Regions from separate parts of the Homo sapiens genome. Here all the other regions are linked to region 2. Evidence: promoter capture Hi-C in 16 types of primary human blood cells and fetal thymus (Javierre and others, 2016). All regions are on one chromosome and are shown on one strand. Each heading gives the region's core, a stretch centred on a gene start or on the middle of the fragment in contact. The rest is flanking DNA. Distances are from core to core; before and after follow the strand shown.

Region 1 (2,723 bases), core at 47-2,546, 360 kb before region 2:
TCCTCAAGAGGAACATCTGGGTGGAGTGTTGGGGGGCAAAAATCTGATTTAGGTAAAACAGGAAGAGAGACATGAAGGGGCAGAGACAGGGAGTAGTAGCTGGAGGAGGACGGGGGCAAGGAAGGGGTTTTCACGAGAGGAAGACTCAGAGCCACGTGCACACCAGGGAGCTGCACAGCCAATGGGAAAACCGACCAACAGAGAGAGAACCAAGTGCAGGAGCAGCCACAAGGCAAAGGGCACAGCACAGGTGAGGGGGGCACAGCGCAAGTGAGGGAGGCACAGGCACGGGTGAGGGGGGCACAGGCACGGGTGAGGAACGGCACAGGCATGGGTGAGGGGTACAGGTGAGGAATGGCATGGGTGACGGCTGCACAGGCACAGGTGAGGGGGGCACAGGTGCGGGTGGGGGGGCACAGGTGAGGGTAGCATAGGTGAGGTGCAGATGTAGGTGGGGGGCGCACGTGAAGGTGGTGCAGGAGCAGGTGAGGGAGGAGCAGGTGAGGGAGGAGCAGGTGAGGGGGGCACAGGCACAGGTGGGGGGCACAGGTGAGGGCAGCACAGGTGAGGGCAGTGCAGACGTGGGTGAGGGGGGCACAGGTGCGGGTGGGGGGGCACAGGTGAGGGTAGCATAGGTGAGGTGCAGATGTAGGTGGGGGGCGCACGTGAAGGTGGTGCAGGAGCAGGTGAGGGAGGAGCAGGTGAGGGAGGAGCAGGTGAGGGGGGCACAGGCACAGGTGGGGGGCACAGGTGAGGGCAGCACAGGTGAGGGCAGTGCAGACGTGGGTGAGGGGGGCACAGGTGCGGGCGAGGGTGGCACAGGTGTGGGTGAGGGGGTGCAGGTGAAGGCAGCACAGGTGAGGGCGGTGCAGACACAGGTGAAGGGGCAAAGGCGCAGGTGTGGTGGGCACCGGCATGGGTGAGGAGGGCACAGGCGTGGGTGAGGGGGCACAGGCGCTGGGGAGGGGGGCACAGGCGCGGGTGAGGGGGGCAGAGGCACGGGTGAGGGGGCACAGGCGCGGGTGAGGGGGTACAGGAGCGGGTGAGGGGGGTACAGGTGTGGGTGAGGGGGTATAGGAGCGGGTGAGGGGGTACAGGAGCGGGTGAGGGGGGTACAGGTACGGGTGATGGGGCTCATCCACCACGGGTGTGGGAGCAGGTGCAGGTCAGGCAGGGTCTGCGTGACAGGCATGGGCGAGCATGAAGTAGGAGGGAAAGTCTGAGAGAAGGACAGGTATGAAAGGCTCGCCTGGGAGGAGAGGAAGGAGGCTGCTCTGGGCCCCTCCCTCGAGTGGGGCAGCACTCAGGGTCCCGGTCCGGGTCCACAGTCAGCCATCAGCACAGCAGGTGCTTTCTTCTGCTCAGCCACATTCAGCTCAACAGTCACTAAATGTGGTATTAACACAGTGAATAATTCTTTTTGTTCAGGTTTTCAAAATAATGGCCCCTAGCTATAACGATTCTGAAATAACAGACCTAAAAATCATCAGCAGTTACCCCGGCAGGAAGTGTGCTTTGCGATGCCTGGGTCAGCACCCAGACATCCCCACTCGGCCTGAAGCCCCCAGAGGGTGGGGCTCGCAGCACAGCCTCTCTGCAGACGGGGCAGTCACATGCTACAGGCACCGGCCGGCCTTGTCTTCATTCTGGTGCCAATGTGTCTCCTTGGGCTTGCTTCCCATTCTGCTGACCCCTGTACCCACAGACCGAGTCACTGCCCAGCACCCAGTCTCACTGTGAGACCCTCCCTGCACAGCTCTGGGACACCCCCAGCCACATCACCCCAATGGTGCTGTGTGCCTGTGTGCCTACTGGGGTGAGAGCCGGCCAGGACTTCAACACGGTCCACAGAGCCTCACCCCAAAACTTAGCTCCGCCAACCAGCTCACAATATCGCATTCACTGGAGGAAGCTCATCCCCACCCCCGCCCCTGCCCCTGCCCCTGCCCCCGGCCCCACCCCCGTCCCCTGCCACTGTCCAACATCACCTCAACCTCATCAGCGTCTTTAAAGGATCTGAGATGTCTGTGTGTGCTTGTGCTGATGCCTCCCTCCCACCGGAGCGTAGACAGGGGCCTCACTTGTCTCCCCATCATGCTAGCCCAGGGCCTGACTGTGCAGGGCCTGACCGTACCTGGCCGATGGAGGCTCTCAGACCACTGCTGCGGAGGGGGGTATGGGAGAAGCTAAGTGCACCTGCAGCCCTGCTCTGCAGCCCGGCGGCGGTGCCTTGCTTAGGTCCCAGGGCCGCTCCAGGCCTCACGTCAGTACTGCCTCCAACCTAGCCCAGCCATTACGGTGAATCAGGCATTAAAAAGCACTTTCTTGACTTGAAATGTGTTAAAAAAATAATACTTAAAAAAACAAAAACAAAACCAACCCCCCAGCTAGCAGTGAATTCAAGTCTACATCCTTATCTCAGCCTTGCCCAACCAGCTGGAAAGGCCCAGGCCTGGGAGGGAAGACCTGTGCCAGCGCGGAGGCCGCGGAAGCCAGCCCAGGGCCAAACCACCAGCAAACGGTGGGAGAGGCGAGGGGAGTGGAGCTGGGAGCCACAAAGGGCAGACCATGGCTCTTCTGGGCAGAAGGAATTTCCACTGTGCTCTAGAGACCGGGCGGATTCTGGAGGGCTGTGACGTTACTGCAGATAAAGTACATCGAAAAAGCCGGCCACAGAAGAGGTGGAGACCCGGCCTAAGACTCCTCAGACACGGCATCACCAG
Region 2 (2,700 bases), core at 76-2,575:
GTCAGGCAAATGACTGTGTCTTACCTCAAGGGACCACTCTAGGTAATTGGTAACACACATCATTTTGGGTCCAATATTGACAGGTTTGATTTTTCCACAGAAGCTGGAAAACTAGGTTTTTAACATTTAGGCCTTTCAATTATTATTATTATTATTATTTATTTTTTGAGGCGGAGTCTCAGGCTAGGGTACAGTGGCGCCCGCCTCCCGGGTTCAAGCGATTCTCCTGCCTCAGCCTCCCGAGTAGCTGGGATTACAGGCACCCGCCACCACGCTCGGCTAATTTTTGTATTTTTAGTAGAGACGGGGTTTCACCATGTTGACCAGGCTGGTCTGGAACTCCTGACCTCAGGTGATCCGCCTGCCTCGGCCTCCCAAAGCACTGGGATTACAGGTGTAAGCCACCGCGCCTGGCATCAGTCTTTAAATGATAGCAACTAATTCACCTCCTGCTACCCACTCCCAACCCCCAAATACTGTGTGGGCCAAAAACTAAAAATGCATTGTCTGTGAGCCATTTCCTTATTATCCTATAAGGAAAGTCACCATTTCATCTCCAAATAGTTGGGCATTACGAACCCTTCCAAGTGGTTCATGAGGATTTGCTTTTGCCTTGGAAAATGTCAGGGTGAGAACGAACCTTGAGGGTCACAGGGCAGTCTCTGCAGTGTTGTGGTTGCCCAGGACGAAGGTTTTTCTAGCCCACGGCTCCCACTACTGGTCACTGCCCCAGGCCAGACCCTGGCCCTCTCCTCGGAAGACAGAGCAATGCAGCAGCGTTTCCCCTGCAAACTGCCTGCCTGGCTGCTGGGAGGGGGCTGCCAACCTTACTCACTAAGCGTCACAGGAAACTCCGACCTCCATGAGACGAAAACCAAGTATTTACTGAAAGCTTAACGCACGCTAACTCCTTGCTCCTTAGCCAACTGAGAGAAAAATTCGCGAACCCATTCGCAAACGCGGCGCTAACAGCAAACGGGAGGCTGACTCCACCCAGAGGATGGCGAAGCGCTTAAACCGGAGACACCTGAGAAGGAGCCTCCCACAAAACAGACCATGTGGGGAACGGTACCGGGAGCTGGACTGGGGCGCTGAACTACCTGGGCGGGAATCGCCTCGGCGACTGTTCCGCGCGCCTCCGCTTGAGTCAGCCCGGCCGGGAGCTTGACAGCCGGAAGTTCATCGCAAGCCCGGCGACGCCGCGCACGCGCTGTCTCCGTCAGACCTCCGCGCCTGCGCGCGCAGCCAGGAAGTGAGGCCGCGGCGGAGGGGACGGGGCTAGGCCGGGTCGCCGCCTGACGCGACGCGTCCTCACGGGCGCCTACGTCACGGCGTCGAGGCGGAAGATGGTGCACCTCCGGGCCGGCGGTTGCTGAGCTGACCCGGACGGCGAGGGAGCGGGAGCCCGAGCCCGACCACTCCGGCTGCCGCGGGGTGCGGCGCAGCCACCGCCATGTCGCTGCTGCAGTCGGCGCTCGACTTCTTGGCGGGTCCAGGCTCCCTGGGCGGTGCTTCCGGCCGCGACCAGAGTGACTTCGTGGGGCAGACGGTGGAACTGGGCGAGCTGCGGCTGCGGGTGCGGCGGGTCCTGGCCGAAGGTGAGGCCCCGGGTCGGCAGCGCGGGTGCGGCCGCGGAGTGTTGTCTCCGGGACGCTGGGGGCAGCGTCAGCCCGGAGTGGAAGGGCGTGGGTTAGGGCTGGGGAGGGTCCCAGCGGGATCGTGGGTCAGGGTCGGCCAGGGGAGGGTCTCTGCCGAGGGCGTGGGTCAGGGCCAGGCGAAGGTCATAGCGCGGGCGTAGGTGAGTGCCTGCTGGCGGTGATTGCGGAGGGCGAGGCTGGGACCGGGTCGGGGTACTTTCTTGTCATAAGAGTAGGGTCAAGTCGGAGCAAGGCCTGGGGCTTGGGGAACCCCCTCAGGGTGGGTGGGGGAAGATGTTACGGTGAGGTGGGGGATGGTGGCAGGCAGGGAGCTTGGGTGGGGACCCACAGCGGAGACTGAGGGACGGTGCCTAGAAGGCCGACAGCTGGAGTCAGGAGGTGAGCGGTGCAGGAGGTGGGTTTAAGCCTTGGCCTTTTGCCGGACATCTGGGGTTATTGAGCAGGCAGGGACAGGACTGGACTTTGGAGGTTAGGGCTGGTTCTTCTACAGTCCAGGGAACTTGAGAGTTGGTGGGTGCACACGTGTTGCAGGTAGTTGCGGTTGTAGCCTGGGGGGTGGGGGGGTTGGCCGAGGGTAGACTGGGCTGTGTCTCGTGATCCCCCTTCGTCTTTCAACACCTCAGTGTTTCTCTTCCCGGTGAACATCTACTCGTGTGATTCCGTGTGTAGTACAGGAAGCAGAGCCAGTGGTTGTGACCTATATAGAACTTGCAGAGTGGACAGGTCACTCGGCTTAAGTCCTCTTGAGTCAGTCTTGAGTCAGTTTTGTCTCTGCATGCTATTTCTAGCTCCCTGGATGTCCTCTCCGTTCACACGGAATCGATCACCAGTGCCAGTGGGTCCCATTCTCTCTTGTGGATTTTCCTTACATTTTTTGTCCAGTGGTGCCTGGAGGTGTGTCATATTTCACTGGCTGTGAAGTTTATGGGCTAAACACAGTTGACTTGGGTGCGGAAGCGTAACTCTATTCTGCTGTATTGGCACAGGGAGAGGGAGTGAAGCGACACAAAAGCCCTCACCCTCACCAGCTCCCTGGTACCTC
Region 3 (2,700 bases), core at 194-2,693, 260 kb after region 2:
CAGCAGGTGCGTCTGGTTTACAGCGTCGCTGAAGATACCTTGACCTGTGGACTCAGTTCCTTTTGTACAGCATTTCCAGTGAATTTTATTCTCCTGCATTCCGCCAAACAGATTACCTAAAACCTCGGGCAGAAGAGGAGAGGAGGATAGCAGCAGAAGAGAAGAAGAAGCAGGATGAACTGAAACGGATTGCCAGAGAATTGGCAGAAGGTACGAGTGACACTGGCTCTTATAGATTGTCCCTCCCAGGTTTGTGCAGGGATAAGGAAAATGGAGGAGGACATTTAAGCAGAGCTAAGTAGATGCGGATTGTTTAAAAATGGGGAAGCTGGCCAGGCGTGGTGGCTCATGCCTGTATCCCAGCACTTTGGGAGGCCAAGGCGGGCAGATCACCTGAGGTTAGGAGTTCAAGACCAGCCTGACCAACATGGTGCAACCCTGTCTCTACAAAAATTAGCCGGGCATGGCCCGGTGCGGTGGCTCATGCCTGTAATCCTAGCACTTTGGGAGGCTGAGACAGGCAGATTGCCTGAGCTCTGGAGTTCGAGACCAGCCTGGGCAAGATGGTGAAACCCCATTTCTACTAAAATACAAAAAATCAGCCGGGCATGGTGGCAGGCACCTGTAATCCCAGCTACTCAGAAAGCTGAGGCATGAGAATTGCTTGAACCCGGGAGGCGGAGGTTGCAGTGAGCTGAGATCACGCCACTGCACTCCAGCCTGAGCAGCAAAGTGAAATTCTGTCTAAAAAAAATTAGCCAGGCATGATGGCGGGTGCATGTAATCCCAGCTACTCAGAAGGCTGAGGTGGGAGAATCGCTTTAACCTGGGATGCAGAGGTTGCAGTGAGCTGAGATTGCGCCATTGGGTGACAGAGCGAGACTCCGTCTCAAAACAAAAAAAAAAAAAAAAAAAATAACTGGGAAGCTGAAGTGGTCTTTTTAGGTTGCCTGAGTGGTAACATGTGCTTTTCTTCTAACCTTCCGGCCCAAGATGACAGCATATTAAAGTGAGTGACCCTGCGACCCACTCTTTGGACCAGCAGCGGATGAATAAAGCTTCCTGTGTTGTGTGATACTCCGGCTCCTCATTTGCTGTCGCTGGTTGTGGAATTCCTAGGTTGAAGTTCTGTCCACCTCCCAGTTCACGTGAGGTGGAAGACAGGGAGGGGGTTTCAAAAGAATCCACATTACCATTCACAGACCCAGAATGCATCATGTAAACACAGTGGGAAGGACAGATGCGCGCTGCCTGTTCTGTCTGGGGCATCCAGGTGGGGAGCCCCAAAGGCCGTCTGTAATGGAGTCAGTCAGCTGGGGGCCTCATGAGTACTGGGGTTGTCTTGATTCTGAGTTCTAGGCTGCTGCTCTCAGCAGCCCAGACCCCTGGATGGGGAGGGGTAGGCACTGACTGACGCCCTTACAGTTGGGAAGCTGGGTCCTCCTCCACAATAACCCCTCGCCCCAACCTGCCATTTCACAAATCCTCCCTTTGATCCCAGGAAGTGGCCAGGTCAGACTTGGGACTAAAAGTCTGGTGATGTGACCTCCTGAGCACAGGGCCTGAGTGCTGTTTGAGTTGTGCAGGGAGGTGGTCTTGTGGTGCCTGAGCCACTTCCCTCCCCAGCAGGCTTCCTGGGCTTCTCGCCCCTCCTGGCTGTGAGCTTGCCAACAACCCAAACCCTTGGCCTGGTGGTTTGCAATGGACAGATTGAATTTGCTACTTCCCAGTTATGTGCCTTGAGCAAATCTAGGCTTGGAGCCCCAGTTTGTAAAATGAGTTCGTTTGCAAATATAAGGCCAAAGGGAGAAGCAGCCTATAAGCTTTTCAGGACATTTGGTTAAGGTGAGCTTTGAGTGAGCAAGATACTTTCACATCCTGTCCTGGCGTCCAGAGGGGCTGTTTGCAGGATCCCTCAGAACCTCTTAAGAGCCCCTCATCCCAGACCCAGGCTCTGGATACCAGGGGTCTCTGACCAGTGAGATGAAAAGGCTGGGCACGGTGGTTCACACCTGTAATCCCAGCACTTTGGGAGGCCAAGGTGGGCAGATCACTTGAGGTCAGGAGTTCAAGACCAGCCTGGCCAACATGGCGAAACCTTGTCTTTACTAAAAATACAAAAATTAGCTGGTTGTGGTGATGGGTGCCTGTAATCCCAGCTACTCAGGAGGCTGAGGCAGGAGAATTGCTTGAACCCGGAAGGTGGAGGTTGCATTGAGCCAAGATCACACCACTCCACTCCAGGCTGGGTGACAGAGTGAGACTGTCTCAAGCAAAAAACCCAGCACCCCCTTCCTGCAGCCCCATGGCTGTGCTGGGCATGTCTGCTGCTCTCCCACGCCCACCCCAATGAGCCCATCTAGTTAAGCGTCATCTAGTGTTGGGAGCAAATGCCTTGGAGCTCACATCATGAGTTGAACATCCTGAATTTAACATAATACCGATTTCAACTGGGAAGTCCGTTTCTTTGCCTCTGTCCTTCACTCCAGGCTCACCAATATTTAATCATGGGGGTGCACGGGCTTCGGCATCCAGCCCTGCACTGCCCTCCTGGTGCCGTCTGGGGCCATCAGAGCCACTCTACATGGTGTTTATTACAGATCATTTCCGCTCAGACCACTGAAGTTGGATGGCCGCTTTACTCATGGCCTTGACCTCTCTGGCAGAATTTTCTGATGGGTCAAATGTAGTGTGGCTTCC

Evidence for each region. Contacts are between HindIII fragments. The CHiCAGO score rates a contact against its expected background, and 5 or more counts as called.
Region 1: a fragment that was not itself captured here is called in contact with the fragment with the promoter of GAK in region 2 in 2 of 17 cell types (monocytes and M2 macrophages); the score reaches 6.2 in monocytes.
Region 3: a contact is called between a fragment that was not itself captured here and the fragment with the promoter of GAK in region 2, in 3 of 17 cell types (fetal thymus, naive CD4 T cells and total CD8 T cells). The highest score is 8.7, in fetal thymus.

Annotation. Positions count from the first base shown.
Region 1 is chr4:1,294,037-1,296,759 of GRCh38, reverse strand. All of the region lies in intron 1 of MAEA (macrophage erythroblast attacher, E3 ubiquitin ligase), which reads right to left. Among named protein-coding and RNA genes, the nearest start is that of MAEA, 5.5 kb to the right of the region's middle. RefSeq lists an enhancer at 979-1,942. The HindIII fragment of the contact is 8,664 bases long and covers 1-2,723 here.
Region 2 is chr4:930,941-933,640 of GRCh38, reverse strand. It overlaps GAK (cyclin G associated kinase), which reads left to right and starts at 1,325. Exons shown (of 28, transcript NM_005255.4): 1 at 1,325-1,598. The coding sequence starts at 1,454. TMEM175 (transmembrane protein 175) reads right to left here and starts at 1,181. Exons shown (of 11, transcript NM_032326.4): 1 at 1,101-1,181. RefSeq lists an enhancer at 740-1,059 and a silencer at 1,220-1,539. The HindIII fragment of the contact is 2,323 bases long and covers 895-2,700 here.
Region 3 is chr4:670,813-673,512 of GRCh38, reverse strand. It overlaps ATP5ME (ATP synthase membrane subunit e), which reads left to right. Exons shown (of 4, transcript NM_007100.4): 3 at 112-210; 4 at 994-1,077. The coding sequence ends at 1,013. Among named protein-coding and RNA genes, the nearest start is that of ATP5ME, 2.1 kb to the left of the region's middle. The HindIII fragment of the contact is 765 bases long and covers 1,061-1,825 here.